Regions from separate parts of the Homo sapiens genome. Here region 2 is linked to region 1. The links are contacts of gene promoters, found by promoter capture Hi-C in blood cells and fetal thymus (Javierre and others, 2016). All regions are on one chromosome and are shown on one strand. Each heading gives the region's core, a stretch centred on a gene start or on the middle of the fragment in contact. The rest is flanking DNA. Distances are from core to core; before and after follow the strand shown.

The links. The method cuts DNA at HindIII sites, captures the fragments that hold promoters and counts their contacts. A CHiCAGO score of 5 or more calls a contact.
Region 2: a contact is called between a fragment that was not itself captured here and the fragment with the promoter of SH3BP5L in region 1, in 2 of 17 cell types (neutrophils and fetal thymus). The highest score is 7.4, in neutrophils.

Annotation. Positions count from the first base shown.
Region 1 is chr1:248,823,683-248,828,274 of GRCh38, forward strand. It overlaps SH3BP5L (SH3 binding domain protein 5 like), which reads right to left and starts at 2,233. Exons shown (of 7, transcript NM_030645.3): 1 at 2,153-2,233; 2 at 1,071-1,684. The coding sequence starts at 1,253. It overlaps MIR3124 (microRNA 3124), which reads left to right and starts at 2,695; the gene lies at 2,695-2,761. RefSeq lists enhancers at 1,905-1,964, 2,027-2,578, 2,335-2,594, 2,579-3,129, 2,705-2,754 and 1 more. The HindIII fragment of the contact is 10,505 bases long and covers 828-4,592 here.
Region 2 is chr1:246,568,965-246,573,494 of GRCh38, forward strand. The region is part of intron 1 of CNST (consortin, connexin sorting protein); the gene reads left to right. Among named protein-coding and RNA genes, the nearest start is that of CNST, 4.8 kb to the left of the region's middle. The HindIII fragment of the contact is 6,551 bases long and covers 1-4,530 here.

The DNA.
Region 1 (4,592 bases), core at 983-3,482:
AGTGAAGGAAGAATGCCAGGACTGGCTTTGATTTCTTCCCAACTCACTGGAGTAATCCAATAAAGGTTTGCTGACAGATAAGCCTAGGAATTTGAGCCTTCATATGTTCTTGCTCACCTACAGAAGAGTCACTTCCACAACATCAGAGTCTTGGAGATGTGACCGGAACAAATGGCAGACTCAAGCCCCAAACATGCAGGAGCATCCTGGTCGTCACCTGCCCAAGAAGCTTCCTCAGGAAGTCATTCTCAGCCAATTCCCTGAAACACTGCAACCCAGCTTTGATTGGCCAGGCATCTCTTCCACATGGAGTTGGTCTTCCTCACTGACTACCCCCAGGTCTCCTACACAAAGATCTGCCTGTCCTACCAACTAGATTGTAGACACTCCAAGGCAATAAACTGCTCTTCCATTCCTTTAGGAGACCCACTATCCTGAGGGCCAGGTATGTATGTTACTAAGGATTGGCCACAACAAAAGTTACAAATCCTTGAACATATGGGGTTTCTTTATAGATCTAAAGTTGATGCTACCTTTATAACACTGGAAAGGTCTCACTGTTTACAAGGGTGAAACACATTATCAGAGCAATGTGGGCCGCACATCCCTGGAAGGTACCGCTGAGAAGGTGAGAAAGGGGAAAAGATTCTCTCACTCAGCCTCAAAACTGTCCCCCAGTATCAAAGTCATCTCCTCTCACACAGCATCCCTAACTAAGGTGGCAGCCCCTCTGCTTATCTGGAAAGAAGTACAACACACCTACCCTCCACTGACCTAAAGTGTGCCTCCTCCATCTACTGCCAAGTGACACTTTGCTCCTTCAGTGAAGCTTTCAGCAATGCCTCCCAAGCACTAAGGCCAGGCCTTTCTCTGCACTCCATCAGCACTTCAGACACACAACTCTTTTGGAACTTGTTACATTACCCTGCAATGATTTGTTGACAAACTTGTTCTCCTTTCCTGCCCCAGCAGACTGGGGACAGAGTAAGTCTAAGCCCTCATTCATCCAACACTCTTCAGGGAGGCTGGAATCTGGGCTCTCCTTCTCTCCCTGCTCTCAGTGCTCTCACCTGTATTCTAGGATCCAGTTCTTCCTCCTCTCTTGGGGACAATTTGGCCTCACTGCTGCTGCTTCCACCTCCTCCAGGCTCTTCTGCGACTGGGCTCCTAGGGACTTCATCCTCTACAACTTCAGGCCGCAGCTCCCCCTGTGGGGTCTCCCGCCCTCCTGGAACCTGTCTGAGCTCAGCCATGCTGACAGGGGGAGGGCAGAGCCCTATGCACAAGAGAGGACTGACATGCTGGGACCAGGGCCCCAGCTTGGGGCTTCCTGGGCTCTAGATGGCCAGGAGAAGAGTTTCTCTTCTCAAAAGGCAGAAAAGGTGGGCACAGGAAGAACCTCACACTAGGTTAGAGGTTGAGATTCAAGTTGTCAGTGGGGTTCCTAGAGCTGAAGCCTTGTCTGTGCAAAAGTTCTTCCCTTCCCGCCACAGGGAGTCCACTGTGACAAACCCGGAGCAACAGCTCCAAGGCAGGGGGCAAAGGGGGCTTGGATCCTGGACCGAGGCCTGCTAGGAGGAGCACCATTCGGGAGGGTGGAGGCAGGCGCCTCCAGGCTGTGGTGGCAGCTGGAGAGAGAAGGCTGGGCCCGAGCTGAGGCTGTAGGATGAGCGTCTCTGGGGAGCTGCAGAGAAACAAAGGCCAAGTATATGGTCATGTCAGCATCAAAACCGCAGCCACCAGCCCCTTCCAACTCTACAGCCTCCCAAAAACTACACTCTCACCACGCCCCCACCCATGTATTCCGACCAGTCCCTACCTCAACTTCTCTCCTTAGCCCTCAAGGACTTTAGATTCTACTCTTCCCCCGTCCCAGCTCCTCTCGACCCAGGCCCTCCTCAACCAGCGCCTTCGAGACTTTCCTCTGCACCCCTAGGCTCTCCTCCATCTCCTGTGGTCTCCCGCTCGTCCCACTCCACCCCAGCCCGGCTTTGCGATTCACCTTGTAACCCCGAGCCCCACCCCACCTTCTCTGTCCAACCCGAGACATCTAAGCCTCCCGTCTCCAATTCCACACTCTTCCGCAATCCCAAGGACCCTACTCCCGTCCATTCTACCCAGCCATGCGCAAAAGCCCCCCGCACAGCCTTACCTCAGTTTACCTTCCCGTCCGCGGAGCTTCTATGCTGCAAACAATCTCCCCCCCTCCCTCCCCGCAACAAGCCGATCCAACCAAAAACGACCAGGCAGACCAGAAGCGGAAATACATCATCGGTGAACAACGCTCTCCCTCCCACGCTCTCTCTCAAGCCGGGCCTCCTCGGGAGGCCTCACACTCCCCCGCCCTGCCTTCAGTTTCCGTACAAAATGGTGCCCCACGTTGCTCAGGCTAGCCGTAGGTTGCCTCCAGACCATACTCCACCAAGGCTGAATGAAAGAAAAACATGAGAATGTGGTGCTGAAGAAAATTAGGGCGCGGGACGGAAATCGAGAGTAACTGGTGAGAAGAGGAATACTAGATATAAAACGGAGATAATAGCCTCAGAGTGAGTAGTGCCATCTTGCTTTACGGAGCTGCGGCGGCGGCTGCCGGAAAGCCACTTCCGGCCTGCTCCACGGAGGCGGGCGCGACGCCGAAAGTGAGCTGGTAAACTTCCGGCAGTGGCTCCGGGGGCAACTCGAGTCCGGACGCTGGCGGGCTTCGCGGGCGAAGGCAAAGTCGATTTCCAAAAGTGACTTTCCTCACTCCCGTGAAGTCGGCGGAACCCTCCACTAACGGCGTCTGAGCGGACGGCTCCGATGTGTAAATCCCACTCCTCGAGGCCTCTGGACCTTGCACCTTGAACGACGTTTTGGTGGGGTCACCAATTGCTCCGTGAATACTAACCAGGAACTTAGTCAACATTAACTCAGTTAATTCACTCGTGCACCCAGGGTCAGATGCCCTCGATGAGCAGGAGTTTGTTACATGGCATTGTGTATCGTTACCTAGGTCCCTGAGCGAGCGCCTGCTTGTCACCTCTAGGTGTCGCTTGGTGAGGGGAGGGCCTAGGCCTAAGGGGAAGGGCTTCATTCAGGGTTGGATGTTTTGTTTTTACAAAAGGCGTAACTTCCTCAGAGTCAACTCAAAACTTTGCCCTGCAGATGGAAAAGGCAAATGGGCTGAATTCCCCTCCTTTTTGGATCCTGTCAAAGACAACCCAGCTAGACATTGAAGCAGTGAAAAAGACTTTTTTCAGTAACTACTTACAGAAAGGAAAAGAACTGACCTCTGTTCCGATTTGTACAGAAGTGACTGGGCATTTCAAAGGGAGAATGAAGGAAGGAAGGTGATCAGGGCTCAATAGTGTTGGAGAAGTGAAAAATTACAGATTTGATTGGCATAGATGCGATTCGGCCAGATGTGTCTGCTAGCTAGCAGCTATAGAAGTTAGAGTGCTTTTTTATGTATTTATTTATTTTGAGACGGAGTTTAACTCTTGTTGCCCAGGCTGGAGTGCAATGGCGCGATCTTGGCTCACTGCAACCTCCGCCCCACCCCCACCCCCGAGTACAAGAGATTCTCCTGCCTCAGCCTCCCGAGTAGCTGGGATTACAGGTGCATGCCAACACATCTGGCTAATTTTTCTATTTTTAGTAGAGACGGGGTTTCGCCACGTTGGCCAGGCTGGTCTCGAACTCCTGACCTCAGGTGATCCACCCGCCTGGGCATCCCAAAGTGCTAGGATTAGAGGCGTGAGCCACCACGCCCAGCCTAGCTTGCTATTCTTGCACTGAGATTGGGAGGTAGAGGCTCTGCCCTTCTTGACGATCAATTTCAAAGGAATGGCTCTCAGGTCCTTTAGAAGGACCTCTTGAGTTGTAGCAGACGCATAAACACCTTAAAGAGAAGAAGGAAGGATTCATAATGGTAAGCCCTTAATAAACGCCCTGAGAAAGGGAGGTCAGGAGCCTATCATCAGGTGTTGGCTAGAACAAATAGTAAATTCTCCTGGTAGCATTGAGCTTTCTCAGGCAGGCATTTTCATGGGGGAGCTGGGGTTCTCCTAGGGACATGATCTGACACTGCTAGAAGGCATGCTAAAGTTTGTCTCTTAGTAACTCAGAGGTTTGGATGGAGTCATGTGCCAAGAGTTCTACAGTTCTCAGTCCATTTCTTCTATCCCTTCATCCCATGAATAACGATTTTTTTAAATTGAGCAGAGCAAAATATATTCCTTTAAAAGAGGTGATTGAAAACAGATTTTTCCATTAAATTGGAGGTTTTGTTTTTAAAATTACAAAAGTGATTTTTCTAATTTCAATAAGTCAGCAGGACCTTGAGTAACATTGTCTAAGTGGACAGCTTTGATGGATAATAATGCCTCAGTCTTCTACCACAGTCCTTTTTATTATTAAGGTGCCATACAAAAACCATAAAAATTAAATATAAGGTGATAAACATGATTTATTTGTTGTCTACCAGTCACTTTACTTTTGTAGAACTAGAATTTCACTGTAATAACCTCATTTTACCCAGGATGTTCTGTCTACCCTAGCCTGAATTATCTAACCTTTCTTATTCAGCACTGCTCCAATACCTGTCATTCTTA
Region 2 (4,530 bases), core at 273-2,772, 2.3 Mb before region 1:
CTCATGCAATCCTCCCACCTCAGCCTCCCAAAACACTGGTATTACAGGCATGAGCCACCACACCCAGCCTCTTTTGGCTTTTAAATGACAACTGTAATTGGGAAATGCCAAGTGATAGTCCTTGCTTGCTGTTAGAATTAAGGCTGTAGGTCTGTAGCAGCAGTCTTCAATAGAAATACAATGCAAGCCATATAAGTAATTTAAAATTTTCTAGTAGTGGTATTAAGAAAGTAAAAAGAAACAGGTAAAATTTTAGTAGTATATTTTATTTAATCTTATATATGTTATTTTAACATGAAATCAATTTTTAAAATGAGATATTTTACATTATTTGATACTAAATCTATAAAATCTGGTATTTTATACTTACAGCACATCTCAGTTTGGAGAAGCCACATTTCAAGTGCTCAACAGTCACATGTAGCTAAATGTTACCTTACTGAGCAGCACAAATGATAGGATGGTCACATGATTTTTAAGCTGTCTTCCTACACTGAGAGTCTGATTCTGTGGGGTAAATTAAAAACTCCTCTTCCTGAAGTACTGCGGTATTTAATTTGAGAAGTTTCTATGCAGGAAGAGAGTTCTAAGTCTCTTCCTTTTAGTGTTTTTGTTTTGTTTTGTTTGTTTTGAGACAGATTCTCATTCTATTGCCCAGGCTGGAGTGCAGTGGCAGTCCCGGAGCCCTGAACTCCTGGGATCAAATGATCCACCTCAACCTCTCAAAGTGTTGAGATTACAGGCGTAGCCACCATGCCCAGCCTCTTTCTCTTAGTGTTGACTGTGTTAACGTTGAGCCCCATGCTTGTTTAATGAGGCTCATAAGATGAATAGTGTTCAGTCATTTCCTGGCGTGTCATTGTTACTAGTTATTTACATCTGCACGTCAACAGTGTGTCAAGGCACAGTATGAGTTTCTGTCGACTAAATTGTAGGGAGAACTTGAGGACCTTCAAGAAGATTGAACTTTATTGTGAACAGGTAGAGTACCTGTTGTTGCAGAGTTATTTTCTGAGTCAGTTTCAGGTAAGGCTAAGAGTTTTATAAATGTGCTTCTTTATATCATGGTGTTTCTTACCAAGGGAAAGATCAAATCTTTGAGCAAAATTTAGAAAGGAAGAGAGTAGGTTTTATGGCTGTAGAATGCTGGGAGCCTGAGTAAAGTAAAAGATTAACTTGTGTATGGTGGTTTAGGGGAATTTAAAAGGAAAGATGGCAGTTTTTATATAAAGCAACTGACATACTGTCTCCATACGTGCTTCAAGTTGTTTTTGCAACAAGGGTGGTGATTTACGTAGAACCGTCAGTGGTTCAGAGCTGCTGTAACAAAGGTAACTCTAAAGCCAGTTAACCTCCATGGGGATCAGTCAGACCCATCATTGTTCCTGTCTTGACCTCTGTGCTCTAATAAACTTCCCTAAATACTACTTTAGCTGCTGTGTGTTATATCTACATTAATAGCTAAATTAGCCTGAAGGCCTAATTAATATTCAGTGTAATTTAATACAGGAAACATGCCCTCTTCTCAACCTTTATAGTATGAAGAAATTTTAAATTACCTGGTCAGTGAACAAACTCCCTCTGTCAAATATAGTCATGATAGACCTGGCACAATGTAGGGACTATGGGGAGTGTTAGAGGATCAAAGACAGAATTGGGGAAGGGGTATAGTTACTGGATGTTACTTGTTCTGTGAGAGATGTGTGGATGTTCTATAAGAAAATAATAATGTTTTTTGTTTGTATTTAAAACTAGATAGCTGTTTATTGGCACCCTTTTAGTTGGATAAGAGAAAATACATTGCTTGGTTTCTACAAGTGAGTCTTAGCAAATTTATTGTAGTTATTTTAGGAAGAGTAATTGATAGTGCAGTAATCTTCAGTTTTTAAAAAGCCCTGATAAGGTTTAACTGGGCTTTAAAAGCATTATATGCTTAATGAGAAATTCTAACTTAATATATGTATGTCTTGATACTGTTATGTAACCTTTCCAGTTTAGGGCCTTCAAGATTCACATGAATACAGGCTTTCCTTTATGTAGGAATCATTCTCATGGGGGAAATTATATATCCTCTCAGGGAATAATTTTGTTTTTTAAGCATTTGAAATAATTGTTTGTAATATTCGTTAAAGAACACATCATTAGCAGAATTCTGAAGTCTTATAATAGCTTGAGATTTCTTAAATTGTTTTTATCCTTTTTGAGACAGTCTTGCTCTGTCGCCCAGGGTGGAGTGCAGTGGTACGAGATCTCAGCTCACTGCAACCTCCACCTCCTGGGTTCAAGTGATTCTCCTGCCTCAGCCTCCCAAGTAGCTGAGATTACAGGCGTGTGCCACCACACCCAGCTAATTTTTTGTATTTTTAGTAGAGACAGGGTTTCACTATGTTGGCCAGGCTGGTTTCAAACTCCTGACCTCAAGTGATCCGCCCACCTCAGCCTCCCAAAGTGCTGGGATTAAAGGCGTGAGCCACTGTGCCAGGCCAAATGGTTTTTATCTTAGTTTTGAGATCCTGCTCTTTAACATTTTGGAGATGGAAACTTTTTGCCATTATACCCTCCACCCTTCCGTCTCTTAGGACTTCCTGTTTTTCATCATCATTAGCCACGTGGAAAGGAAAGACAGTGTGTGCCTATGAAAATACTGACAAATCAAGATGATTTTTCCTTTTAGATTAAGAAAAATTCTGAAACAGTAAATGGTAAATTTTGTCATATTTATTTACTTATTTTAGAGATGAGGTCTCACTATGTTGCCCAGATTAGCCTTGAACTCCTGGGCTCAAGTGATCCTCCTGCTGTAGCCTCCTGAGCTGGGGCTATAGGCATGTGCCACACTGTCTGGTTAGTCACCCTTCATTGACATTTGGGCATTTGATATTTAAATTGACAGTATCTAGGCAATTATAGAAATTAACATTATTTTGCAATTGGCATATGTATTAAATTTTCTTATGAGAATAATTGCCCTGTTTTTTTCTGGAGAGCCACTACCTGATTAAATAATCACATATTTTTTCTACCTTAGCTGCATTTTGAAAACTCAGTGAATTAGGTGACTGTGGTTTTCTAATTTGAATGAAGGTAAAGTAACCTTTAAAAATGGTTTTTGGCCAGTCACAGCCATGCCTGGGACTCACGCCTGTAGTCCTAGCTACTCTGGAGGCTGAGGTGGGAGGATCACCTAAGCACAGGAGGTCAAGGCTGCAGTGAAGCATGACTGCACCACTGTGCTCTGCACTCCAGCCTGGGTGACAGAGTAAGACCCTGTCTCAAAAATACATACATAAATGAATTAAATACTTTTTTATATTATAGATTTTGAAATAAGTTATTAAAAAATTTGGGAACTTTATAAGATCAAATGCTGCTGTCCTTGAGTATTTGATAGTATACTGCTTATATTTTGATTTTTTGTATGCATTGTCCTTGTTCATTATTTTTCTCTTCTGCAGCTTTTATTCCCAGTATACAACTAAATCTTAAAAATAATTTTTAGATGAACTGAAAAACATTGCCTAAGATTTTTCAATAAGGATTTTTGTGAAAATGTGTGTGGTTTGTTATTTAGAGATGAGATCTCACTGTTTTGCCCAGGCTAGTCCTGAACTCCTGGGCTCAAGTGATCCTCCTGCCTTGACTTCCCAAAATACTGGGATTATAGACGTGAGCCACCACTCCCAGCCAAATGTATGTTTTATTTATTGAATAATAAATAGTGGAGTTATTTATTTATGTGTGTGATATGTGGTTTTTTTAATTATTAATTTTTTAGAAAAATAGAAGCAGGGTTTCGCCATGTTGCCTAGGGTGGTCTTGAACTCCTGAGCTCGAGCAGAGTGCCTACTTCAGCCTCTCAAAGTGCTGGGATTACAGGTGTGAGTCACTGCACCAGGCCTGAGTTATTTGTTTTTACCTCATGAAACAACAACTAACATTTTAGATTTTTTTTTCCACTTGTGAAGCATGAAAAAGTTTACTTAAATTGGATCTTACAAGGATTCATGTAACCAACAGGATTTCCTCCCTCAGCGTCAACTCACATGAAAAGAGGGGTGGACGTTTGTGCAAATTATACTGGTTATGATATTGTGAAATGTAGTTTCCTGGAAAAGTCATTATTGATACCCATTTTTGGCATCTTAATTCAAATTCAGCCATCAGGCTTTATTTTAAATGATTTACACAGCAATCTCTAGATTCTTCTTGCTACAAGTATTTTAAAAATTTTGTTGTGGAGTTCTTCGGCATGCCAGTTAGAGTTATACCTGTAGCATTGGATAAGCACTGTAAAGAGCCAAAATTAGAGGTAATACCCTTGCTCTTCCCTACTTTAATCATGTAATATAGGTCTTGTGACTTGGAAGAAGATTGTCTTATTACCATTACATTTGAACTTTTGTTTTAAAATTAATCTGTTAGATCATATATTCACCAAAGCTCATCTTTTCACTAGCCAGAGAAAGCTGTATTTCAAAATAACCTAAAGTAAAATAGTATTTAATTCAAGAAGTTAGTTTTTATTATATC